5 separate regions of the Homo sapiens genome follow, and regions 1, 2, 3 and 5 are each linked to region 4. The links are contacts of gene promoters, found by promoter capture Hi-C in blood cells and fetal thymus (Javierre and others, 2016). All regions are on one chromosome and are shown on one strand. The core of a region is centred on a gene start or on the middle of the fragment in contact, and the rest is flanking DNA. Distances in the headings are between cores, read along the strand shown. Region 1 holds the start of GDPD1 (glycerophosphodiester phosphodiesterase domain containing 1). Region 2 overlaps GDPD1 (glycerophosphodiester phosphodiesterase domain containing 1). Region 3 overlaps HEATR6 (HEAT repeat containing 6). Region 4 holds the start of PTRH2 (peptidyl-tRNA hydrolase 2). Region 5 overlaps HEATR6 (HEAT repeat containing 6).

Region 1 (5,542 bases), core at 2,028-4,527, 490 kb after region 4:
TCAATGGAGTGATTCCTTCCTAGTTACATTGTCTCTTATTTTCCAGAGACGTAGTATCTTGAATTACAAAGTGTTTTATCTCCTCTATCACTCTGGATTCAACTGGAGTATTGAGTGTACATATTCAACAAAAGCATATGAAGCACTGACATGGGAACTTACCACAGTGTTTATAGGACCATTATATAGGTAAAACAGATTTTGAGTCTGCAGATATTTAATAAGATTATCACAAAAAGTTCCATTACATCTTTAAATATATAAATACTGATGCCGCATTTACAAATAATGAATGGAAATTTTTATATAAGAGGTAATATTGAAATGACCTAATATCTAGGAAGAAAATAGTTTTAAAGTATTTTCAACAGTAAACGAAAATTTGAGGTCTAGCTTATCCTGGCTTTGATACTTGTTGTGATAATCTAGCACACAGTCTTTAACGCCTATGGAGTGCTGGGTTTTTTCACCTGCAGAGTGTTGCAAAATTTCAAAGATCGACAAGTATTTCTTCTAAAATAAAATTTTGATCATTCACAATGACAGTTTAGATAGCTTTTTAGAGGATCTGGTTTTGTTTTGTTTTGGAGTTTTTAGTAAGCATACTTTTTGTAAATCGGTAAACAACAAACAAAAAAGTAATGTGTACTGCCTATCCCCAGAATAGGACTACTATCATTGAAAATTGCCTCTGGCAGGGTGCAGTGTCTCACGCCTGTAATCCCAACACTTTGGGAGGCTAAGGCGGGTGGATCACCTGAGGTCAGGAGTTTGAGATCAGCCTGGCCAACATGGTGAAACCTCGTCTCCACTAAAAATACAAAAATTAGCTGTGCGTGGTGGCGGGAGCCTGTAATCCCAGCTACTCGGGAGGCTGAGGCAGGAGAATCGCTTGAACACAGGAGGCAGAGGCTGCAGTGAGCCAAGATGGCACCACTACACTGTAGCCCGGGCGACAAGAGGGAAACTCTGTCTCAAAAAAAAAAAAAAAAAAAAAAAAAAGGCTGGGCACTGTGGCTCACGCCTGTAATTCCAGCACTTTGGGAGGCCGAGATGGGCGGATCACGAGGTCAGGAAATCGAGACCATCCTGGCTCAGACAGTGAAACCCCGTCTCTACTAAAAATAAAAAAAATTAACTGGGTGTGGTGGCGGGCGCCTGTAGTCCCAGCTACTCGGGAGGCTGAGGCAGGAGAATGGCGTGAACCCGGGAGGAGGAGCTTGCAGTGAGCCGAGATCGCGCCACTGCACTTCAGCCTGGGTGACAGACCGAGACTCCATCTCAAAACAAACAAACAAAAAAACAAACAAACAAAAACACAAAAAGAAAAAAGAAAATTGCTTCTGTGACAGCAACTTGAATACTAAAAGTCGGTCCCTGGTTCCAATGGTTGAAGGCACCTTAGTAGTTAAATGTCATCCTACAGTTTAACCAGGTAGCTATTAAAACAGATAACCCAAATAAACAATAACAAGGCATTTGGCTGACCACCCTTTAAAACCTCTGAGGCTTTTCATGAGTGGGAAGGCTAGAATACTATTGAAGTCACTCATTAGAACTATGCTTAACTAATAAAATTATATAGAAGAATGATAATGTACTTCCGTATTTATATTTCAAAACCTTTTTCCTTGGCCAATACTTGTTAGTAAAGTGATTATGGTACTACACCAAGTTTTAGACTGTAAACTCCTAGAAATTATCATTTCAAGTGTGTATTAAATTTCAAGCAAATTTTAAACCGGTTTAAGATTCAGCCTTAAAGAACAGTTAAAATTGATTGAAAATAATCCAATTTCACCGCACTTTATACATCATAGTTGAAATGCAATGAAGACACATTATTACACAATAATGAAGAAGCAAAGATTTGGCCTGTTATCTGGGAAATTAGAGGGTGGACTACCTGGGCTCCTTTTAGCAAAACACTTTTCCAAAAGAAACTTATTTTTGTTTTCTTTAAACAATACTGTCCTGTCCTAAACGAAATCATTTTTAGTCTGTTGAAAATCCACGTGTCTTTGCGTGTTTATTTATTTATTTATTTATTTATTTATTTATTGCAGTGTTCAAAAAAAAAAAAAAAAAGATGCAAGGTTTCCAGCCCTGAGGACCAGGACGCTGTAGCTCCTGTCTCAGTTCAGCCCTAGCTCTAATTGTGACCTTGGGAAATGTCCCTGGCTCGGGGGACTCGGTTTCCCTCTCTTCTCAATTATGAGTGCTCGGAACGTGGGGGTGGGACGGGCCCCCAGCACCGCAGACAAGGGGTTACAGCTCGTCCAGCTTCATGCAAATCCCCAGCCCTCCTCGTCGCCTCGGCTCTTCCCATCCACTCAGCCACTAGCTCGCTCGGAGCAGTGTGCTCCCGGTGCCCCCCGCGGGGTACCCTCGGTTCTGCACGGCGCTCCCCCTTTGTGTCTTGCTGCTAGGAAGGGACCTTGCGATCATCCTTCCATCCGCCGAGAAACGCTCCACCTACCCTTCATTCTCGACCGTGTCTTTCCCGTTTCAGAGAACCCCTCACACTGCTGCCCTCGAGAGACCCCCGCCGTGGCTCTGACCGGGAATCCCTCTCCTTCCCTCCCCTCAGGAGACCTTCCCTTCACACAGCCTTCACCTCCGGAAGAGCCCTCAATTCACACAACCCCATTCTTCCTCAAACTCTCAGGGATTGGCACCCGGCTGCCTTTTGCGGAGCCGCAAAGGACCCTCAGCCTCCCCCACCTCCGTCATCGGGTTCTGGGGACCCCTCTCACCTCCGCGGTGAGAGATGTGTTTACTGAGGAATCGCTGCTTCTTTCTCTGGTGCAGCAAGGTCGGGTATTTAAGCAACAAGAATGAGGTCACCAAGTATCCTCCTAGCGTAGAGAGAAGGTAAAAAGCCGCAGTGGACGACATCTCAGTCACCGTGTGGGAAGTCTCCCACCTCCGGGCCCTCTGAACTCCGCTGCGGCAGTAGCAACGACGGCGGCGGCGGCGGCTGCTCGAGGTCGGCTCGCCCCCAGCCGGTGCCACTGGTGCAGCGCACTTGTCGGTGCCGGCCTACTGCGCACGCGCAGCTGGACCCCAGCGCCCCAGCAACAAAGAGGCTCCGACGCGCAGGCGCTCTCCGGCTCCCGTGTAGGAACCTGCAGAGATCCTGGACTGAGCGTTTGTCACCTAGCTCTGTGGACGGACCCTCATGAAGAGAAAGCTTGCAAACCTGCCAGTGTGTTGGCCATCACTCAAGCAGAAAAGACTATTCACGGGCAGCCTTTCCTAATTGGAAAATCCACATCAAAAAGGAAAGATTCCAGGGCGCGTCTTATCCCTTGCTCTAGAAAATGCAAATAATTTGTACCTATGGAGGCGATAAAGCTTGCTAAAACACTAAATAAACTCCTCCGTTTATCTAGCCTAGAGAGAATTTCCCCTATGGTCGCATATACTAGAAAAGGTACTGGTTTATCAGTCAAATATCTGAGAGATCGGCCCCTGTCCTCCCTCATTTCATTGTGAAAGTGCAATCCTCATTCTTTGTACACAATAGGCACTGTAGAAGTATTTGTTGACTTACAAGTCCGTATAAAATAAGGAAACTTTGTTAAGGTTATAAGGTATTACCTAAAAGTCCTAGAAAGACAGATAACTAAGTTCCAGAAGGCCCTACTAGTTTTCCTTTTACCCGACAAATTACAAACTGCTAACACACGAAAAGCCACACACTTCAATGCAAAAGAAATAAATCACCCAGGACTGAGGGAGAAATTTTACGGAGAAGACCATATCTCCCACAGGACTAGAAAAGCAGAGTGAATATTTAAAATCCTGATTCAGCCGGGCGCGGTGGCCCACGCCTGTAATCCCAGCACTTAGGGAGGCCGGGAAGGAAGGGTGGATCGCTTGAGCCCGGGAGTTCGAGACCAGCCTGGGCAACATGGCGAAACCCCATCTCTACAAAAAATAAAACAAAATAAGCCCGGCGTGGTGGCGTGCACCTGTAGTCACGCTACTTGGGAGGCTGAAGTGGGAGTATTGCTTGAGCCTGGAAAATCGAGGCTGCAGTGAGCTATGACTGCACCACTGCACCCCAGCCTGGGCGACAGAGCAAGACCCTATCTCAACTATAAAAAGAAAATTAGAAGAAAATAGGGGGTGGCTGGGCACGGTGGCTCAAGCCTGTAATCCCAGCACTTTGGGAGGCTGAGGCGGGCAGATCATTTGAAGTCAGGAGCCTGGCCAACATGGCGAAATTCCATCTCTACTAAAAATACAAAAATTTGCCAGGGGTGGTGGCGTGTGCCTGTGATCCCAGCTACTCAGGAGGCCGAGGCAGGAGAATCTCTTGGACCCGGGAGGCAGAGGTTGCAATGAGCCGAGAAGGCGCCACTGCACTCCAGCCTGGGTGACAGAGCGAGACTCCGTCTCAAAAAAAAAAAAAAAAAAAAAAAAAAAAAAAAAAAAAAAAATTCCTTTAGTCGAGGTTGAAGTGAGCCTTGATGGTGCCACTGCACTCCAGCCTGGGCAACAGAGCAACATTCTGAGGAAACTTACAGGTTAAAAAATCATGTGTTCTGTTTAGGGCTGTTAAACTATTTCCTGTAGATCAACTGACGCACATAGTTCTATTTTTCAAAATATCACCTGATGACTATGGAAGCGTCTAGAATAAACCACTGTGGCATAAAAATTATTTTGAGGCTGGGCATGGTGGCTCACGCCTGTAATCCCAGCACTTTGGGAGGCTGAGACAGGCAGATCACCTGAGGTCGGGAGTTCGAGACTAGCCTGGCCATCATGGTGAAACCCCGTATCTACTAAAAATACAAAAATAAGCCAGGCATAGTGGTGCATGCCTGTAGTCCCAGCTACTAGGGAGGCTGAGGCAGGAGAATGGCTTGAACCTGGGAGGCGGAGCTTGCAGTGAGCCAAGATCATGCCACGGCACCCCAGCCTGGGCGACAGAGCAAGACTCTGTCTCTTAAAAAATATATATATATTGAGCTGAAGGCATTTAAGTTCCTGGAATCCCTTATCAACCTAAAATCAAAGGCTCCCAGAAGAACTTAACTGTCATAAATCTCCTCCCTGGGAACAATTCTAATCCTGTCAGAGATGAGAGACATTGTCACAAAAGTATGACATCTCATGGGTATTCTCCTAAGGACACATTTATGTTTCCAAAAAATCATTTCTTTTTCCAAAAAGTGCTTTCTCCCCAGCTTCTAAGAAGTCATTTGTTCTTCTGGAAGTACCCCCTACCCCTTCCCACCCGTAAATTTTAGATTATATATAAACCTCAAATTCTAACCGCTTTTTTTTTTTTTTTAGACAGAGTCTCACTCTGTGGTCCAGGCTGGAGTTCAGCAGTGCCATCTCGGCTCACTGCATCCTCTGCCTCCCCGGGGGTTCAAGTGATTCTCCTGCCTCAGCCTCCTGAGTAGCTGGGGCTACAGATGCGCACCACCGCGCCTGGCTAATATTGTGTGTGTGTATATTTTTCTTTTCTTTTCTTTTCTTTTTGAAAAGGAGTTTCGCTCTTGTTGTCTAGGCTGGAGTGCAA
Region 2 (5,176 bases), core at 605-3,104, 430 kb after region 4:
AACCTGTAATCCCAGCACTTTGAGAGGCCGAGGTGGGTGGATCACCTGAGGTCAGGAGTTCGAGACCAGTCTGGCCAACGTGGCAAAACCCTGTCTCTACTAAAAATACAAAAATTAGCTGGGCATGGTAGCAGGCACCTGTAATCCCAGGTACTCGGGAGGCAGAGGCAGGAGAATTGCTGGAACCTGGGAGGCAGAGGTTGCAGTGAGCCAAGATCGCACCACTGCACTCCGGCCTCGGCGACAGAGCAAGACTACATGTCAAAAAAAAAAAAAAAATCTTTTACTAATTGATTGTATTCCAGTGAAGACTATTGCCAATTTTTTTTCTTTTTTTCTTTTTTTGAGACGGAGTCTTGCTCTGTAGCCCAGGCTGGAGTGCAGTGGCGCGATCTCGGCTCACTGCAAGCTCCGCCTCCCGGGTTCACGCCATTCTCCTGACTCAGCCTCCCGAGTAGCTGGGACTAAGGTGCCCACCACCACGCCCAGCTAATTTTTTGTATTTTTAGTAGAGACGGGGTTTCACCATGTTAGCCAGGATGGTCTCGATCTCCTGACCTCGTGATCCGCCCGCCTCGGCCTCCCATTTTTTTTTTTTTTTTTTTTTTTTGAGACGGAGTCTCACTCTGTCTCCCAGGCTGGAGTGCAGTGGTGCTATCTTGGCTCACTACAGCCTCTGCCTCCCGGGTTCAAGCAATTCTTGTGCCTCAGCCTTAAGAGCTGCTGGGATGACAGACGTGTACCACCACGCATGGTTAATTTTTGTATTTTTGGTAGAGATGGGGTTTTGCCATGTTGGCCAGGCTGGTCTTTAACTCCTGACTTCAGATGATCCGCCTGTCTCAGCCTCCCAAAGTGCTGGGATTACAGGCATGAGCCACCACACTCAGCCCAATGCCAAATGTATCCAATAGTCTTTGATTCCAGAATTACTTATGATAGAACACTGCATCATCTACAGAAATCTTGATCAATAACCTAGATAACCTAGTTTCTAGGTTATTGATCAAGATTTCTGTAGATGATGTAGTATGTACATTTCTGTGTATGTTATTAATCAAGATTTCTGTATAAGATCTAGAAACAAAAATGCACATTAAGAAATTAAAACTTACATCTCATAACCAATTATCTTTCTAAACAATTTACAAACATAAAATATACAATATTATTTAAAATAAATATACATATAATATATAGTTTCTACATTCTCATACAGGCTTAAAAATGAGGTAATAAAAACTGATTAAACCTTTTACCATTCTGGAAATGGCTTAGGGAAATGATCATGAAATATTTTTTTCTTAGGTCTTCATTTTTTCCTTCAATACTTCTAAGTACCTCTTTTTCTATGCTGAAAAGTTATGTAAAAAATCCCTAAGCTTTGTTGGATAGTCTGTCATCACCCCAGTTGCTCCCAAATCAAAAGCTCTTTTGTATTCTTGTTCTTCATTTAATACCCAAATATACACCTGAAAATTAGAAGTGTGAGAAGTATGAGAAGAAATGTTAAAATAGAAAATTATTTTTATAACAGTATTTATCCACTACAGTCTTGGTACATTTAGAAATAACCTTTTAAAGCTATCATTTAAATAAATCATTAGATCCTTTTTTAAAATTCCACTTTGTTCCTTACAGGAATGAGGAGTGTTAAAAAAAAATTCATGGTGCTTGTTAAATATACAGACTCCTGGCTGAGCGCGGTGGCTCACGCCTGTAATTCCAGCACTTTGGGAGGCCAAGGCAGGCAGATCACCTGAGGTCCGGAGTTCGAGATCAGCCTGGCCAACATGGCAAAACCCAGTCTCTACTAAAAATACAAAAATTAGCCAGGTATGGTGGTGCATGCCTATAATCCCAGCTACTTAGGAGGCTGAGGCATGAGAATTGCTTGAACCTGGGAGGTGGAGGTTGCAGTGAGTCAAGACTGCACCACTGCACTCCAGCCTGGGTGACAGAGTGAGACTCCATCTCAAAAAAAAAAAAGAAAAAAGTAAAAAAAGAAATATACATACATATATTTATATATATATACACACACACAAACACTGTCCCACCCCTCTGGCATCAGCTATTCTGTACATAAGAGGAATCTAGATCCAGAAATGCCAATGCTTTATTGCTAAGTGTAAGGAAGAGCTTAAGGTCCTCATTTGTGGATCAGTAAAGCAGCAGCATCAGAGTCAAGGGCCAAACTAAGTCAGTTAAAAGTTCTTGCCCTTTATATTTGTGTTAAACTGGTGAGCTATGCTGCTTCCAAAATGCATCATTCCAGAAACTTACTTGAATGCCTCGAGCAGTTAGGTGGTCAAACAAAGCTTTCCTCATTAGTAAGCTAGAAAAGAAAAAGCAAAACTGATTTAGGAATTTAGTCCTTAGTCCTAATTTAGTCAATTTAGAGTTTAGTAATTCCAGTTTAATTTAATCCCAATGCTTCAGCAATAAAAGAAATGGTCTCAAGTAATAATAGCTGTTGTGAATTAATTTATGTCTTAATTGCTGGATCTCCTTTCACTGCAGGCTGCTGGTTGGTGGACAACCAGAACCTCCTTTCTACTTCTTGCTGCTACCAGATTCATAGGAGACCCATTCTTGTTGGCACAGCTCAATGGAAAAGAGGCTGCCTCATTTTCACTGCTGAAGAAGGAGAAAGAGCTGGCTTTCCTTTCTTACTATTAATGTGTGTTCCTAACTTTCCAAGTTAAAATAAGTCAACAAATGCAGGTCAATTTCTATAACATCATAGTTCATTACACAATGGATTAGTCTTTTGTAAGCGATGTTAGAAGCATTATGTCCATTAATTACACTATCCTATGTCTAGGGAAAAAATATTTTTTTGTTCCAAGTAACTCACTGATAAGTGAACTTTCAAAATACAAACCTCTTGAGCAAGATAGGAATTCATTGCACTGGAAAGACATTATTTCTATTCTGTTATGTCTATTAGAATGATTAAATAACAGAAACTAGAAATCATGTGCTTTTAACACCAATTAACAATGCATCTTGTCAGTTAATAGGGTTGAAAAAAGAAAAAAAATGCATCCTGGTTTTACTTGAGTACAAAAAAAAGGCATCCTTGAAAACTAGAGCTTAAATCAAGAATAAAGCAAAAAAGAATAAACACTGACAGAGAGAAAAGATAAAACTAATTGTTTAAGACTCTTTGAAAAAGGCGTTAAGGCTGGGCGCGGTGGCTCACACCTGTAATCCCAGCACTTTGGGAGGCTGAGGTGGGCAGATCACATGAGGCCAGGAGTTCGAGATCAGCCTGGCCAACATGATGAAACCTCATCTCTACTAAAAAATACAAAAACTAACCAGGCATGGTGGGAGGCACCTATAGTTCCAGCTACTCGGGAGGCTGAGGCAGAAGAATCACTTGAACCCAGGAAGCGGTGAGCCGAGATCACACCACTGCACTCCAGCCTGGGCGACAGAGAAAGACTCCATCTCAAAAAATGAATAAATAAATAAATAAAATAAAATAAAATAAAATAAAATAAAATAAGAAGAAAAGGCGTTAAATAATAAAAAGTTGTGATTTGGGACTATTAAAATATTTAAGCATTCAAGGTTCCATCTTAAAGCAAAATATAGTACAATTATTTAGTGATTTTTACTAAAATTAAACTCATCATGTCTAAATTAAGGCATTTACTTTAAAGTTGATATCCACTCTATAGGTGGGATTTCCTTTCTGCTGTTAAGTCTTGGTGCAGAGCAAATTTTTCTGAGAAATGTGCTGTAGGCAACATACACTTTTATATATACTGTGTTGCTACACTTCTTTTCACCAGCAAGTAAGCTAAAGGGAATGGTTATTTAACCTAGTTCTGCTACTAACTAGCTAGATAACCCCAAGTAAATAATTTAACTGGGTATATGGGGGCTCAGTTTTCTCATGAAGTTGGAGGACATTATCTCTCAAGATTCTTCCTAAGATTTTGTGATTAGTAATTAAGATATTTCTAAATGATTCATACACATTTTACATAGCAGGTGCTCAATTTGTCCTTGTTACAAATTACATGTGGAAAGCTTGCACAACATTTTAAGGGTAGTATTTAATAAATATAGCTGAAGCAATAACTTGCATATTAAGAAATTAAAATTCTTACAGATCAGAAAGCCAGATGAGAAACTTTTGACTTCTGGACATGGTGTGTGGTTCTTTTAGCCTAGGGTAAAATAAAGTTTGAATTACAAATTAGAAACACAGAAATATATCAGTGTGATAAAATGAAACAAATTCAAAAATGAAAACAGTGCCTTGTACTTTGTATATTCTCAAAAAATATTTGTAAAAAGGACAAAAATAAAATAAAGGCCAGTTGGGTTCTGTTTGCACTGGTCTCAAGCTAACTTTTTGCCATCCCTATTCAAAAGTAATAAATAAATAAATAAATAAATAAATGCATACATAAATAAATAAATATTGTCTTTCCAGAGACCCTGGTGCCCTAGGCTCATATCTCGTTTCTTTTTTGGTGAAATCTTTCTCCTGCTTTGTCTCCTACAATTTAGTATGTGGCAAATTTAAACATACAACGGAACTGTATTATAGATCAAAGTGAGCAGTTTACCACGTGTTTTCCTTTCCTTTAAAATATCTGTAGGCCAGGCATGGTGGCTCATGTCTGTAATCCCAGCACTTTGGGAGGCTGAGGCTGGTGCATCACCTGAGTTCAGAAGTTCCAGACCAGCCTGGCCAACATAGTGAAACCCCCCCCCGTCTCTACTAAAAACATAAAAATTAGCCGGGCATGGTGGCGCACACCTGTAATCACAGCTACTCAGGAGCCGGAGACAGGAGAACTGCTTGAACCCAGGAGGCAGAGGTTGCAGTGAGCCAAGACTGCGCCACTGCACTCCAGCCTGGGTGACAAAGTAAAACTCTGTCTCAAAAAAAAAAAAAAGTACAAAATAAAGTACAAGTCCTTTTTTCCCTAACTCTGGCCCCAGTGGAAAGTCCTGGTTGCAATTTCAGGAATATTAGGGATTTAGTAGCTCAAATACTGATTACCTCATTAAACAATCACTATATTGTCTTAGAAAATATCCATTGTCTTCTATAGAAGTATTAAAACACACAAAATATATCCTGCTTGTGTCTTAATCCATAATCACTTTTTAGAGAAAATATTAATTCTGTGGAGTTTGTTCTTAT
Region 3 (5,503 bases), core at 1,984-4,483, 330 kb before region 4:
TACATACACTAAAGGACAGAAGCTCCTCATATGCCTGGGCACGTGCCTCCATAAAGCTGCTGTGGGGAAAGGAAGCCACTGACAATAAAGACAACTTAAGCTGATGAAAATCAGCACACAGCTCCACTGGTTCAGATTTCTAATGCAGAATGCCAGATTCTAAATTATCTTTTGACACTTAAAAATTGGGAGGAAGAGTCATCCAGGCACAGATGGCTAGGGCCCTTGTCCATTAGACTACAGCATTATGAGACGTTGCTTATCTTACTCTTTGAACCTTTTCTGTGACGAGTAAAAAACAAACAAACAAACAAAACATTAATTCCTATCCCCTTCCAGAACTCAAGAAAAGCGCCTCTTCTGAGGTTGGGTGCCATGGCTCATATCTGTAATCCCAATAGGCCAAGGCGGGAGGATCACTTGAGCCCTAGGAATTCTAGACCAACCTGGGCAATATAGGGAGACGGTCTCTACAAAAAAAAAAAAATTAAAAATTAGCTGGGTGTGGAAGTGCGCACCTATAGTCCCAGCTACTCAGGAGGCTGAGGTGGAGGATTGCTTGAGCTCTGGAGGTCAAGGCTGCAGTGAGCTGTGATCGCACCACTGCACTCCAGCCAGGGCAACAGAGTAAGACCTTCTCTCTAAACAACAAAAAAGGAAACCTCCTATGGAGCACCAATGCAAAGGTGTCCTTGATTTTGGTATTTGTGCTTGAATACAGACCATGAGCAAAAGCCTCACCATCTTTCCAGCATAAGAGCTAAGTAAATCAAATACTCTGGTTCATTCAGCCTTTGCTGCATTGATGTAGTGCAGTGGTTAAGAGCTTGGGCTTAAATCCTGGCTGTGCAGCTTTCTACCTGTGAAAGTTGCTTAACCCTTCTGTGCCTTATTTTATTCATCTGTAAAATGGGGATAAAAGTGCCTATTTCATAAGGATATTATAATGACTAAAATAGATAATACATAGAAAGTTCTTAGAACAGCTTCTGGCATTCAATAAATGTCAGGTATTTATTTCCTTGAATTTTCAGAGCAGCAGGCAGAAATACTGTCAACACATCATGAGCCTTTGTGATGGCAGTTAAACAGCTGGAATCTTGTAGGTCAGGTGCTAGCTGGCATGCCTCGGGAACCTGGATCAGAAAGATAAGCAGTGAGGAAGAGGCGCTGCTGCAGGACCTCTCTATCCTACTAGGAACAGCCCTCTGTCTAGCCCCCATGGGTCCCTCCCAGGAAAGAGAAGGGACTAGAAGTGGGAGAGGCCACACAAACTGAACAGGGAAGTAGGGGAGTAGGTCTTGGTTCTGCCTCATGACCCATCTCTGCGAGCCAGTCTTCAGGAATCACATCTCCAGCTTGCACACGCTCAGGAATTACTCCTGGTTTTAAAGGGCAACTCCTCTACTTAATGACTACACCCTTGGGCAGTCACTTGACCACTTATCTGTAAAGGGATACCAGTATCTCACACAGTTGTTCAGGAGTAGCTCCCATAATGTAAAGCACCTGGCTCGGAGCCTGGCATAGAGAGAGGGGCTCAGTGACAGATGGTGCCTCTTGTTACACTTTTCCTAGGTCTTCTCCCGGGGCTAGCATTTCTCTGCTTCTCATTGGAGTAAGATCCCTAGAGTGGGATATTGGAGAATGTCTGTCTGGTTCTAGTACACACCTTGAGTCCTCAAGCCTAGGCTGAAGGCATCCTCAGCTCCAGGAACATGGACATTATATTAGGGGTGGGGCCAAAGTCTTGGAAAATGAGCACTCATTCAATTACCATTTCCTTCCAACACACCCGAGCACCACAACACCGTAGCCCGCAGCCGTGGCTCACTGGACTCATCGGGGAGGAACGCGGTGGTGGTGCAGCCTCTCTCCAGGCATACTGCGTGAAAAAGCCCCTCCTTGAGAATGATTGCTTTACAGTCTCCACCATGACCAACCAGGATTTGCTGTAGGAATGCAGGAAAGTCCTATTAATAAAATGCAATCACATTAGTGGGTCAAATAAGAAAATACAAATGGTCATCTTTATGGATGCTGGAAGAGTGACGAAATGCAGTATCCTTTTCTGATCAAAATTATTTTTAAAAAAGAATTCAAAAAGATAATTCATTAGCATAATGAAATATACCTATCTTAATAGGGACTTCCCTAAAACTCAGAACCAAGACAAGCAAGAATGATATCACCAATATTACCTAATACTGTACAAGAAATTTTAATGGCCAATGTGATTCAATAAACCAAAAATCAAAATTTTCAAAGTTTTTTTTCAAAAAGAGGTTCCAAATTATCATTATTTGCAGAAAACCAGTCTGAGTGATTGGATTCACAAATCCTTGTGTGCAGAAAACCAAGAAAGTAATAAAACCAAAATTCAGAAAGTAATTAAACCAATATTCAGAAAGTAAAAAAACCAATAAAAGTTCTGTAAGGCAGCTGGTTACAAAGTAAACATGCCAAATCAGTAGCTCTTCTATATATCAGCAATAACCAATTTGATTTTTAATAAAAATTTTAATAATAAAAATACCTGAGAATAAATTTAACCAAGCTTATGCAAGGATTCTGAGGAAAAAAAATAAAAACTTTTACCAGTGGTCATAAAAGAAGATTTTTTTAAATGAGAAGATATATCATTACTAGACTGAAGGACTCAATCTATTAAAAGGCTACTTTCCTCCAAATCTATACATTTCATAAAATTCCCATCAAAATTAGAATTTTTTAAAGGACAAAATGATGTTTTTTTTCGAGACAGAATCTCACTCTGTCACCCAGGCTGGAGTGCAGTCATATTATCTTGGCTCACTGCAACTTCTGCTCATGGGTTCAAGCAATTCTTGTGCCTCAGCCTCCCAAGTAGCTGGGATTACAGGTGTGTGCCACCACACCTGGCTAATTTAAGGACAAAATGATTCTAAAGGTCATCTGGAAAAGTGAATAAAAAAATTCAAGCCAGGAATCAGGCTTACAGCTACCACACTGTGGAGGGAAAGAGAAATTTCTCCCCCAATTAGTGTGCATTTTTCAACCTTTAAAAATCCATGCTTTTGTTTTTTAAATAAAAATTCTTCTCCCATTCTCATTCCAGTCATACTCCGTCCTGTCTTTCCCACTGAATGTTACTATGAATCCTGGACCACAGGCATGGAGCAGCTAGCTCTGAAAACAAGGTGGTAGCAGGAAGATCAGGGAAGGAAAAGAGAACTCTAAACACCACCAAAGTGGCAGTAAGTCTGCCATTTTATTCCCCCTCTGGGGTCTCCTGGCCTGGACTCAAAGATGAACCAAAACCTGGAATTGCATACCAGATGCAGATAGAAAGAGCTCTGAGCCTCTGTTTCTGACCTTAGGAGAGAGGTAAGCACCCCTATAGGTCAGCAAAAGCGGGGAAATCCTGTGTTTGCTGTCTCTTTTCTCCCCACACCAGCCCCTAGGCAATCTCACTGCAGCAGTGGCAGCCAGGCAGGTGCCTAGAACTTCAAGGGAAGGAAACTCATCTCTCTGCCAGAGGAAGAATGGTCCCAACAGCAAGGGAGTCATGCCCATGGCTTTTTTCTCTTTACACAACCTTCCATGCTTGGCCGTGGAGGCAGACAGTCACAGAAACTGTAGGGCAGAGCAGTACAGTTAAAACCCTGACTTTCTAGCCAGAGGACCGGAAAGAGGGACCCCTGAGACTGTAAAGTGTTGAGATTTCAGAGAGGAGGGAACGCAAGAAGGCAATACCCTAAAGTTGTATGTGAACTCCTGGGCTCATGCCCAGGCATTCCATGTGTGGATCTGAACAAAGGCTTTGAGAACTGAACGGTGGGACAAGGCACTGTCCAGTCTCGTACCCGCCACTGGGTGGCGCACACACGGGGCGGATCTGAACAGCGCGGCAAAGGCTCTGAAGCTTAATTGATATTGAACCACAACCCGCAGGAGGCAGGTGGGAACTTGTGACTGAACCTAACCAGGACGATTGCCTGCCAAAGCAAAAACACAGGATTCCAACATGGCCCAGATTCTCATAACACAAAATTAGAATGTTCAGGATACCGTCCATAACTACTTGACCTGTAGAGAACAGAGAGAACCTTAATTTCCTGAAGACACTCCTGGGCTCAAGGGAATCTTCCCACCTCAGCCTCCCGAGTAGCTGGGATTACAGGTGCGTGCCACCACACCCGGCTAATTTTGTATTTTTAGTAGCGACCGGGTTTCTCCATGTTGGTCAGGCTGGTTTCTACATTTCACGTGAAGCACTAAATATATAACCTAAATAGACTATGAAAACCTAGGTGTTTTGTAATCCCTAAAGCAACTACATTTTCAACTTACACAAAAAGATATGGTTAAAAAAATCAGTGAATTAAAATGGAATTCCAAAAAATTCAAATAATCCAAAGGAAGGCAGGAAAAGTCAAAACAGGAATGAAAAACACAGGGAAAAATAGAGAACAAATAGAAAACACAATAAAATATTAAATGTAAATCCAAACATACCAACGATTATATTAAATTTAAAAAGTTGAAATATGCTAATAAAAAGATAGATTGTTGAATGTAAAAAACTAACAAACAAAAAACCCAACACTCAACTATATGTGTCTAAGAAACTCATTTTAAGTAAATAGTATAGATTAAAAATGAAAGGACAAAAAAGAAAGATATATCATACAAATACTAATCAAAAGAAATCTGGAGTAATTACATACCATCAGACAAAACAGACTTCAGAGCAAGGAAATTTACCAAGGATACAGAGGGACATTACATAATGATAACAAGGTCAATTTTCAAAGAAAACATTAACAATCCTAAGCATCTATGTACCTAACAACAGAGCTTCAAAATCCATGAGGCAAAACCTGACAGAACTGAAAAGAGAAATGGCAAATCAGCAATTACAGTTGGACACCCCAACCTGCCTTTCTCAGTAATCCCTAGAACAAATAGATCACATTCTGGATCATAAAACAACAATTTTTTTTCTTTTTTAGACAAGGTCTTGCTCTGCTGCTCAGGCTGGAGTACAGTAGAGCAATCTCAGCTCACTGCAGCCCAACTTCACGGGCTCAAACGATCCTCCCACTTCAGCCTCCCGAGTAGCTGGGACCACACGCTTGTGCCACCACACCTGAGTAATTTTTGTATTTTTGGTAGAGATGGGGTTTCGCCATGTTCCCCAGGCTGGTCTCGAACTCCTGACCTTAAATGATCCATCCGCCTTGGCCTCCCAAAAGTGCTGGGATTACAGGCATGAGCCACCACTCCAAGCCCATAAAACAAACCTTAACAAATTTAAAAGAACAGAAATAATACAAAGCAAGGTCTCTGAGCATAATGGAATTAAACCAGAGATCGATAACTGACAAAAATCTCTAAATAGTTGGAAATTAAATAATATACTTCTAAGTAATCCATGGGTCAAAGGAGGTAGTCTCAAAGGAAATGAGGATATTAGAAAATACTTAAAACTGAACAAAAACAAAAATACAATAAATCAAAA
Region 4 (5,305 bases), core at 1,518-4,017:
GAGACGGAGTCTGGCTCTGTCTCCCAGGCTGGAGTGCAGTGGCGCAATCTCGGCTCACTGCAAGCTCCGCCTCCTGGGTTCGCGCCATTCTCCTGCCTCAGCCTCCGGAGTAGCTGGGATTACAGGCGCCTGCCACCACGCCCGGCTAATTTTTTGTATTTTTAGTAGAGACAGGGTTTCACTGTATTAGCCAGGATTGTCTCGATCGCCTGACCTCGTGATCCGCCCAACTCGGCCTCCCAAAGTGCTGGGATTACAAGCGTGAACCACCGCGCCCGGCCCAATAATAAGGTTTCTTATTTAATGTAAGTAAGATAGGACTACTTCTACTCTTTAGTTAACTATACGTAGGCAAAAAACTTCAGCTTTTTCTGCACTTGGAAGTTCTGAAGTGACAATACATGACGACCAAAAAGGATCAGATTTAAACTCCCGAATGCAAAACTATACTCATTTTCCAGGAACCTATTTATTAACCATGGTGACTAATTCAATGGATCACGGTATCAAACTATTCTTTGCTAACTTTCAAAGGTGGGGCAAAGATCATCTCAGAAAAGTATGTGATAATATTTTCAGATAATGATGCAAAGTAACAGTATTCTACACTGACATATCTCCAGTTCTAAGAGTAAAGTGATACCATATTTTCATATTTAATAATTTCATGTTTACTAGCTCATTTAATCTTTGTGACAGTTGTATGAAAGAAAGTGAGCAGAATTTTTATCAACACAATCTAGACCAGCTCAGAATGTTAGGTAACCTATCAGCCATTACTTAACAAGTGTTGGAGCCCAGACTTCAATCCAGGTCTTCTGATTTAAAGTTTAATAGTTACCAAAATCCTAAAAAGTGGTGATTCAAGCCAAAAGCGAGAAGTTGGAAAAGTGAGAAAAACTGGATAATCAGTCCTTCAATTGAACATAAAGAAGATAAGATCAGATTTGGCAGTTATATAATCAAGAAGCAAATTTACCGAATGTTAAACTAATGATACATCTATCATAATTCCATATCTCAAATTTTGTCACCTTGTTTCAAAGCCAAGCGTGAACAAATTTTCAAACTCAAAATAAGAAAAATATGTAAACTGACAAACTGATTTAACTAGCTATAGGTAAACTGGTAAAAGGCATCATGGTTCTATGTATATTTTCTTCTGGAATGTGACTCATAGAAATTAAACTGTATTAATCAATTGTAATCAAGTAGGATATATCCCTCAAAGGAAAAAAGTAACCTTCAGTGCCTTAAGATAATGTAGGCAAAGTAGTAAAATATAAAATTTCTACTCGAGAGAGTCACTTCATACCTACACAAATCAGTCACATTTGTCTAGGTACCACCATCCCTCTTCCACAGTAAAAACATAAGCTACAATGCATACAATGATGCCTAGTAAGTAAGTTTCTTCCTTTCATCATCTATGCTAAGAATACACAACTAAAATCAGAGCTAATGACAATACAATTACTAGGTAGTAGCAACTGGAATATTAAATTCTATCATGACAACACCAGAAACACTTGTACAAGCTTCTTCAAATGATCAATGTAATCTGTCCACAAAAATCTCTGACAAGCCCCAAAGTAGAAATGAAAGACGTTAACATTAGGATAAGGAGCGATGCTGCCAAAACACATCAACAGTGGCCAGTCTACGTGTATTATTAGATTTTTACATGGAGTTGCAGGTAAATAAAAGATGATTGTGTAAAATCTTCTGGAGGTCATAAGTAATCTAGCAGTGTGACACAGGGCCACATATGGTTTCTGGAATTTTAGAGATTAAGTCGACCTTCACGTTTTACTGCAAATACCTCCACTGTAATAAGATATAGAGGTCGGGGTTCAGGGGTTTGGAAAGGCAGACAACTCTTTTTCATTAAAGCAGTGAAAAATCTGAGAAGTTCCTCTCCAAGGGCTCTGCGGAGCGAAGGCCCATTCCCTTGGCTACCCTGTACCACCAGAGCTTTAGATGGCACTTGCACGCCTGGATTTCGTTTAGGAGCGAATACATCTAGCATCATGCGCCAGAGGTTCGGGAGAGCAAAAACCAAACTGACAGATCCTGAGAAATAGCTCAGTCATCAGCAGGGAAGACCTTCTCCACTTACTCCAAGGTCCTGGACATCCCGGGACTAAGAGGTTCTCTAAAGAAGCCTAGCAAGGCTTCCAAGTACGCGGAGAGGAGAACGAACAGCCCGGTGTCTGGGTTCAATGTCCGGGTGACCAACCATGAGAAGGTGTCCCAAATAACCTGGCTACCGCCAGCGTGAGACATCCAGGGTGAGACATCCAGTCAGCAGCGTCCTAAAACACTGCTGGAAGTCGGAATCACAGTGCCCCAGATCCGCAATGCCTAAGTGGGAGAGCTCCGGAAGACGCCAAGCTCTGAGGACAGCCTCAGGCTTCGGTCCCCAATTCCCTGAGTTAGTTTACCTACCCGCTCCGACCCCGGCTGCTCCGGATCTCAGGATCCTGGAAGCTGCTCCTTACGGACTCTCACACCCGCCGCTGGGCTCCAGACAACCGGAACCCGCTCACGTCACTTCCGGTCCGGTCCCTCTGCCCCCTGAGACAGCCTCCAGAAGGGATACGTTCCTCCCTCCTTTCGGCGAGCTCGGTTGATCCTCGCGGGATTTCAGTTAGGCTCTTAGTGCGGGCCCTGTGGGTGTGGCAAGAGGAAGAATGACTGCTCGCTTTGTGATTCTTGATCCGGAACTTGTCACCCAGGAACCCCGGAAGAGGTAGCTCACGCGATAGAAACGTGTTCGCTGCCCAGAAGAAGGGAAGGCGCGAGTGAGGAAAGGAGGTACTGTAGGTAGGTTGGTTGGCTCCTTACAGGGCGAAGGAGACCAATATCATTATTCATTTTCTCGCCAGTAGGAACGTTTCTTTTCACCTCGTTGCATTACCCACCTTCTTCATTTTCTCCTTTATAAACTGTCTTCCGCCCAGGGGCCGCTGAGCCCTCTGTTCCTGTTCTGCGAACCGTCCTTTGGAGGAAAGGAACAGGCTGCTGGGGAGGGGAAGACTCAGAATTTCTAGTTCCCAGCAAAGCCTCCAGGCAGGCAGTATCGATGCGCTCTCTCCGAAATTGATAAAATAGCGAGCAGGCCTCATACCCTCAGCTGGGCACTTATGAATATCCCCAGCGTTTCGAGCTGTCGAGCTCTGCGTGGAAAGAATTGGTTTCTAAGAATATAGTCGAAAATTTGGGGCCGGGCGCGGTGGCTGACGCCTGTAATCCCAGCACTTTGGGAGGCTGATGTGGGCGGATCACCTGAGGTCAGAAGTTCGAGACCATCCTGGCCAACATGGCGAAAACCCATCTATACTAAAAATACAAAAATTAGCCGGCGTGGTGGCGCGTGCCTGTAATCCCAGCTACTCGGGAGGCTGAGGCAGGAGAATGACTTGAACTCGGGAGGCGGAGGTTGCAGTGAGCCGATATCGCTCCATTGCTCTCCAGCCTGGGCGACAGAGTGAGACTTCGTCTCAGAAAAAAAAAAAAAAGAAAGAAAAAATTTCCCCCCTTTTTCACACAAAGAGATTAACTAGAGAGGTATTAATCCTTACTGACATACCCCAGGCACCATACTAGACTCTGGGAATATGTTATACAGGGAAAGTGGGGCAGTGGCTTAAGGGTCAGAGAAGATTTGGGAAAGGTTTGTTTGTTTTTTTCGGTTGTAAACTGCAGACCCGGCGCGGTGGCTCAGCCTGTAATCCAACACTTTGGGAGGCTGAGACAGGAGGATTGCTTGAGCCCAGGAGTTTGAGAACAGCCTGGGCCACATAGGGGGCCACATAGTGAGACCCTGTCTCTTAAAAAAAGATTAACGGGTGGAGCATGGTGCAGAAGGAGGTAATGGGATCAAGAGCACTACTGAAATGGGTTTACTGAGGCAGGGGAATTAGAAGGCACCAAGAAGAAGATTTTATAGGATGTACTTATTTTGTTCTGCTGTCATTGCCCAGAATTATTTATGAGACAAAGAATGGTTATTTGTTTTACCTTAGTCTTAGGCACTAGGCTTATTGATACGCTTGTCGTAAGTGTACAGAAAAAGAGACAGACATGTTGTTTTAGAGGAGTTAGATGATAATCTGATCAGATTAATATGAGATTAGAACATCCTAAAGAACAAAAATATGTGTTAATTTTAGCATTTTTATGATTAGACACTCCATTGAGATATGGGACATAATAAATAAACTTGGTAACTTTTGGAACTTTCACTGTCCTGTTTTTGATCTTATTGGGTTTTTTTTTTTTTTTGGAGACAGGGTTTTGCATTGTTGTCCAGCCTGGGGTGCAGTGGCACGATCATGGCTCACTGCAATTTCCACCTCCCAGCCTGAGGTGTCCTCCTACCTTATCCCCTGAGTAGCTGGGAGTATGGGCATGTGGCACCACATCTGGCTAATTATTTAAATTTTTTGTAAAGATGAGGTCTCACTGGGTTGCCCAGATTGGTTTTGAACTGGACTCGAGATGCTGCTGCCTCGACCTCAAGCAACTCCTTGAGGCCAGGAGTTCCAGACCAGCCTGGGCAACATAGCAAGACCAAGTCCATACAAAAATAAAAAATTTTTAAAAAATCAGGAGGGTGTGGTGGCATGCACCTGTAGTCCCATCTACTTGGAAGGCTGAGGTAGGAGAATTGCTTAAGCCCAGGAGTTTGAGGCTGTAGCGAGCTATGATCATGCCACTGAACTCTAGCCTGGGTGACAGAGGGAGACCCCTTCTCTTTAAAAAAAAATAAAGAAAAAGGCAACTTCTCTGTTTGATCCTCATATTTCTCATCTTTAAAATGAGGCTAATATATCTTCCTTTTTATGTGTTCATAGCAACAATAAATGAGGTAATGGATATAAAGGATTTAGTATGTTATCCAGCACATAATAGCTTCTCTATGTAGAGCAGTTCCTTCTCCAGATAGTACCGGAATGTAGTGTATGGGATATTTGGTTACTTTGCAGCCTAGAAATTATTTCAGAGAATCCTAATTGCTGACATTGCATATTTGTTCAGTTTGGAGTCTGGTTGTTAGATTATCAAAGAAAAGTCCTGCTGATATGTAAGCATCAAATAGAAACTTGGCCAGGCATGGTGGCCCATGCCTGTATCCCAGCACTTTGGGAGGCTGAGGCAGGCAGATCACTTGAGGTCAGGAGTTCGAGACCAGCCTGGCCAACATGGTGAAACCCCGTCTCTACTAAAAATACAAAAATTAGCCAGGTGTGGTGGCGGGTGCCTGTAATCCCATGTACGTGGGAGGCTGAGGCGGGAGAAT
Region 5 (4,892 bases), core at 232-2,731, 350 kb before region 4:
AATTGACCCCTCAAGTCCCAGTGGAAGTGAGCTAGAGGATTAATTGTAAAGTTTGCCTGTTTAATGCTCAGGGCAGTGACCAGAGTATCCCTTTAGAATTAAGATTGAGCCAGGTGCAAGCAGCCCCCCTGAGGAGTATGATTGTTTATATCCCTTACACATAGGTAGAGGATGGATGGATGGTTAGATAGACAGACAGACGGACAGATAGATATTATCTACTTTTTGGAAAGAAAAACTGGAATACAAAATTTAACTTCTTTATTGTTATTTCCTATGAAGTTCAGATAAAACCCCAGAACTTCAAATCTTTACTAAGTGCAGTCTTATTATTTCCTCCTACACATAATGTATTTGTGCTATAAACACTTGCCTTTTGTAGATTTGCCTTTCTTTTGTTTGCAAGCTTTCAGATCGGACCACATTCTGATGAGTTCAGTTTTTCAGGCAGAATTGTAACAAGGAAGGAATAGTGGATGTTTTCTGTGACATAGTGGGAAGAGCATGGGACCTGAAGTCAATCCAAGGGTCTGGATCCCACTCCCATTTTTGCCATCTCATGGCCATGACCCTCTCTGAACCCTAATTTCTTCCTAACAGCAAGAATTATAACTACATCATAAGATTTTTATGAGGCTCAAATGAGATAATGAGATGTAACTAAGTCCAGTTCACTACTTACACTAATATGTAAAAAAGGGACCCAGAAAGATAAGTCTTACCCTAAGGTTTCCCATCACATTCATGGCAGAAATAAGATGAGAACAACCCCTGCTCATTCCACTGTACCAACTTTTCATTATCTGCATCTTCAGCTGAGGAGAGTGCACCATGCCTCAAAGTTTCCTTTCAAGTATCTGACTTTATCCTCAAGTAACTTTTTTTCATTAAAATGTTCAAACCCTGAAATTCTTAGGTATGAGCCTAACAAAATATGTACAAGATCTATATGAAGAAAACTGTGAAACTCTGATCAAATAAAGAACTAAATGAATGGACAGAGATTCCATATTCCTGGATAGGAAGGCTCAATATTGTGAAGATGTTACTTCTTCCCAACTTGATCTATAGATTCAGTGCAGTCTCAATCAAAATTCCAGCAAGTTATTTTGCAGATATCAATGAACTGATTCTGAAATATATATGGATATGCAAAAGACCTGGAATAGCCAACACAATATTGATAGAGAAGAACAAAACTGAAGGACTGACATTCCCTGACCTCAAAATCTACTATAAAACTACAGTAATTAAGACAGTGTGATACTGGCCAAGGAAGAGACAAACAGATCAATGGAACAGAATAGAGAGCCCAGAAATAGACCCACATAAATATAGTCAACTGATCTACAACAAAGGAGCAGATACTTTTCAACAATTGGTGCTGGAACAGCTGGACATCACATGCAAAAAAAAAAATGAGTCTAGACACAGACCTTTTAGCTTTTTAAAAATATTTCTTGTTAAAATCCGGGGTTCATTCAAGGTACATGCATTGCATTTAGTTATTATGTCACTGTAGTCTTTTTAAATGTAGAGTCCCCCCACCCATCTTTTTTATATCAAACTGACTTAGGAAAGAATCCAACCCAATTGTCTTATAGAATGTGAACTCTAAGCTCTGTCACCAAAGATAACAAAATAAATCACATTCTCAATTTGTCAGATTGTTTCTTTATGGTGTTAACTTACTCTCCTGTCCCATGTATTTCCAAACTGGAAATGAGGTCTAGAAGTTTGATTAGATTCAGGTTACACAAGGAACTACTAATTTTTAATTGCCTGCTGGGATAACTACCATCTTTACAGTAGTTGTTGCCATGATGATAAGTTCTTACTGCTTCCTTTGACAGATGTTAATGTTCGTGTGTCAAGTCTCACACTCTTGGGAGCTATAGTGTCCACCCACGCACCTTTACCTGAAGTCCAACTACTTCTGCAACAGCCATGTTCTTCTGGACTCGGTAATAGCAATTCAGCAACCCCTCACCTCAGCCCTCCTGATTGGTGGAAGAAAGCCCCTGCAGGACCCTCTCTGGAAGAAACGTCAGTTAGCTCACCTAAGGGGTCTTCAGAGCCCTGCTGGCTCATTCGACTCTGCATTTCCATTGTCGTACTGCCCAAGGAGGATTCCTGTTCAGGTAGCGATGCTGGCTCTGCAGCAGGAAGCACCTACGAACCATCCCCCATGCGACTGGAGGCCTTACAGGTAGGAGATTTCATTTCCTCATCTCTGAAATGGAAGTAACCATTCCTCCTTCAGAGTGACTGTGAGGAGCGAGCAGGTAAAACCAAGCCATATGTCAATTGTGTTCGTGGGAATTGTATTTTAGGTATGGGTGGTGTATTGTTTTGTTGTTGTTTTGTTTTGGGGAGGTGTTCTTTGGTTGTAAAATAGCAGATTCATTCCTTTTTGTTCTTTGATTGCAAATTATTTTAGTCCCTTCAGGTATTATATGACAAGTGGATGTAATAGATTGTAGAATAATTCTGAGTGAAATTGTACAGTTAATTTTTGATTTTTGCAACTTAAATGTTTAATTCTCTATAAGCTTTTCCTTGGTCTTGTACCTGCTTAGAGTAACAAAATAATTGTTCCTTCAAAGGAAGAAAACAATCCTAGATAAAAGAGTTTACTTTTTCTATACAAATATGATCTGAGACTAGGCCTGGTCCTGAGGTCTGCTGCTGATTAACTGGGCAGCATGAAGCATGTCCTTTCATCTTGTCAGGCTTAGGTTCTTTAGTTGTAAAATTCAGTTAATACCTACTTTAAAGAATAGTTCCAAGACTTAAATGAGATTCTGTTAATGAAAAGCAATCATATACTAAAGCACCATAAAACTATGATACAGTTTATTGATGTTAGTCACAAAATAAAGATTATGGTTCTTAATTTCATTCAACAGATTTCAGCCCCTGTTAAATGTAAGCGATTTCTGAAATATTGTAACACTTTTCTGGATATTGCAGCCTTGCACTCAGGTCTTAGAGGGTTAATTCCATGCTCTCTTTGCAGGTATTGACTCTTCTGGCAAGGGGCTACTTTTCAATGACTCAAGCCTACTTGATGGAGCTTGGAGAGGTGATTTGCAAGTGCATGGGGGAAGCAGATCCATCCATTCAGCTTCATGGAGCAAAGGTAATTTTCATCAAAACCACAATGCTTTTTCCTTCTCTTCACTTTATATCCTTCCTTTTCTTCACTTTATATCCTTCCTTTTCTTCACTTTATATTCTTCTGCCACATGTCCTTCAATTCTGAGATTTCTTAAAGAGATTTCAGGTAAGGAGGACATGCATTCTTCTGTTTTCGGCTCTTACATATAAACCCCACGCATTGACTCAGTAACAAATTAATAAGATATAGCTGTTGATTTCAGTCCTTGAAAGAATGCCTCTGTTAACAGTGACTGAAAAAAGAAAGAAAATTAGTTGCAAATTATGTTTCCCCTTGATTTGAGGCGATCTCCAAACTCAAGTGAAGGTGTTACTAAAGTGAAGGTGTTACTAGAGTGAAGGTGTCACTCGAGTGAAGGTGTTACTCGAGTGGAGGTGTTACTAGAGTGAAGGTGTTACTAGAGTGAAGGTGTTACTCAAGTGAAGTCATTCATTAGTTCTGATGCTCCACTTCGGTAATTCTTTTTCTTGGCAGCTTCTGGAAGAACTGGGCACAGGCTTAATACAGCAGTATAAACCAGACTCCACTGCAGCACCTGATCAGAGAGCACCAGTCTTCTTGGTAAATAAATGTCAATTCATAGTTTTCTTTTATTAATGCTTCAGTTGCAGTTTTATTTTGAAGCTCAGTGATAAATGGAGTAGATGATATGGTTTCTTCCAGTGTCAAAAATTATGTTTTATAATCCAGGAAAACATGAAACTAGTATAAATTGGTTTTATTTTACATTTCAGTTTATTTGCAGTTTAGTTTGTGGTAGGCTTATGTATAACATATAACCAGCAATAGTAAAACTAATATTTCTTTTGCATAAAACCTAGTTTTTTATGCAAAAGAGGTTTATCTGGCTCACAGTTCTGCAGGCTGTACAAAAAGCATGGTGCCAGCATCTACCTCTGAGGAAGCCCCAGGAAGCTTTAAATCCTGGTGGAAGGCAAAGGGGGAGCAGGCATGTCATATGGCAAGAGAGTAAGCAAGAGGGAGATGCCAGGCTCTTTTAAACAACCAGCTCTCGTATGAGCTCATAGAGTGAGAGTTCACTCATTACCACAAGGACAGCACCAAGCCATTCAAGAGGGATCCACCCCCATGACCCAAACACTTCCTATTAGGCCCACCTCCAGTGTTAGAGGTCACATTTCAGCATGAGGTTTGAGGAGGCACACATCCAAACCATATCATTCTGCCTCTGGCCACCACAAATCTCATGTTCCTCTCACTGTAAAATACAGTCACCTCCTCCCAATAGTTCCCCAAAGTCTTAACTCTTTACGGCATCACTCAAAAGTTCAAAGTCTCAGCTGTGACTCAAGGCAAGTTCCTTCCACCTATGAGCCTGTAAGATCAAAAACAAGTTACTGATTTTTAAGATACAATGGTGGTACAGGCATTGGGTAAACAGTCCCATTCCAACAGGGAGAAATCAGCCAAAAGAAAGGGGCAACAAGCCCCACACAAATCCAAAACCCAGCAGGACAGACATTAAACCTTAAAGCTCCAAAATAGTCCTTGACTCCATGTCCCGCATCCAGTGCACACTGGTGCAAGGGGTGGGCTTCCAAGGCTTCTGGCAGCCTTGCCCTTCTGGCTTTGCTAGGTGTAGGCTGTGTCCCATTCCCAGAGTTCCACTAGGCAGTGCTCAGTGGAGACCGTGTGTAGGGGCTCCAACCTCACATCTCTCTTTGGCACTGCCCTAGTAGAGGCTCTCAGT

Evidence for each region. The method cuts DNA at HindIII sites, captures the fragments that hold promoters and counts their contacts. A CHiCAGO score of 5 or more calls a contact.
Region 1: a contact is called between a fragment that was not itself captured here and the fragment with the promoter of PTRH2 in region 4, in 2 of 17 cell types (fetal thymus and total CD8 T cells). The highest score is 6.8, in fetal thymus.
Region 2: a fragment that was not itself captured here is called in contact with the fragment with the promoter of PTRH2 in region 4 in 2 of 17 cell types (endothelial precursors and monocytes); the score reaches 6.0 in endothelial precursors.
Region 3: a contact is called between a fragment that was not itself captured here and the fragment with the promoter of PTRH2 in region 4, in 11 of 17 cell types (activated CD4 T cells, endothelial precursors, M2 macrophages and 8 more). The highest score is 12.3, in activated CD4 T cells.
Region 5: a fragment that was not itself captured here is called in contact with the fragment with the promoter of PTRH2 in region 4 in 1 of 17 cell types (activated CD4 T cells); the score reaches 6.3 in activated CD4 T cells.

What each region holds. Positions count from the first base shown.
Region 1 is chr17:59,217,966-59,223,507 of GRCh38, reverse strand. GDPD1 (glycerophosphodiester phosphodiesterase domain containing 1) reads right to left here and starts at 2,997. Exons shown (of 10, transcript NM_182569.4): 1 at 2,757-2,997. The coding sequence starts at 2,898. RefSeq lists an enhancer at 2,421-2,971. The HindIII fragment of the contact is 164 bases long and covers 3,196-3,359 here.
Region 2 is chr17:59,269,947-59,275,122 of GRCh38, reverse strand. GDPD1 (glycerophosphodiester phosphodiesterase domain containing 1) reads right to left here. Exons shown (of 10, transcript NM_182569.4): 8 at 4,128-4,187; 9 at 2,287-2,338; 10 at 1-1,472. The coding sequence ends at 1,350. Among named protein-coding and RNA genes, the nearest start is that of GDPD1, 52 kb to the right of the region's middle. The HindIII fragment of the contact is 939 bases long and covers 1,385-2,323 here.
Region 3 is chr17:60,035,627-60,041,129 of GRCh38, reverse strand. It overlaps HEATR6 (HEAT repeat containing 6), which reads left to right. Exons shown (of 20, transcript NM_022070.5): 20 at 1-122. Among named protein-coding and RNA genes, the nearest start is that of MIR4737, 4.7 kb to the left of the region's middle. RefSeq lists enhancers at 968-1,262, 3,980-4,109. The HindIII fragment of the contact is 1,347 bases long and covers 2,560-3,906 here.
Region 4 is chr17:59,704,892-59,710,196 of GRCh38, reverse strand. It overlaps PTRH2 (peptidyl-tRNA hydrolase 2), which reads left to right and starts at 2,767. Exons shown (of 2, transcript NM_016077.5): 1 at 2,767-2,826. VMP1 (vacuole membrane protein 1) reads right to left here and starts at 2,543. Exons shown (of 12, transcript NM_030938.5): 1 at 2,449-2,543. RefSeq lists enhancers at 2,438-2,497, 2,298-2,953. The HindIII fragment of the contact is 5,892 bases long and covers 1,541-5,305 here.
Region 5 is chr17:60,054,365-60,059,256 of GRCh38, reverse strand. HEATR6 (HEAT repeat containing 6) reads left to right here. Exons shown (of 20, transcript NM_022070.5): 12 at 1,854-2,209; 13 at 3,020-3,142; 14 at 3,656-3,742. Among named protein-coding and RNA genes, the nearest start is that of MIR4737, 14 kb to the right of the region's middle. The HindIII fragment of the contact is 2,146 bases long and covers 409-2,554 here.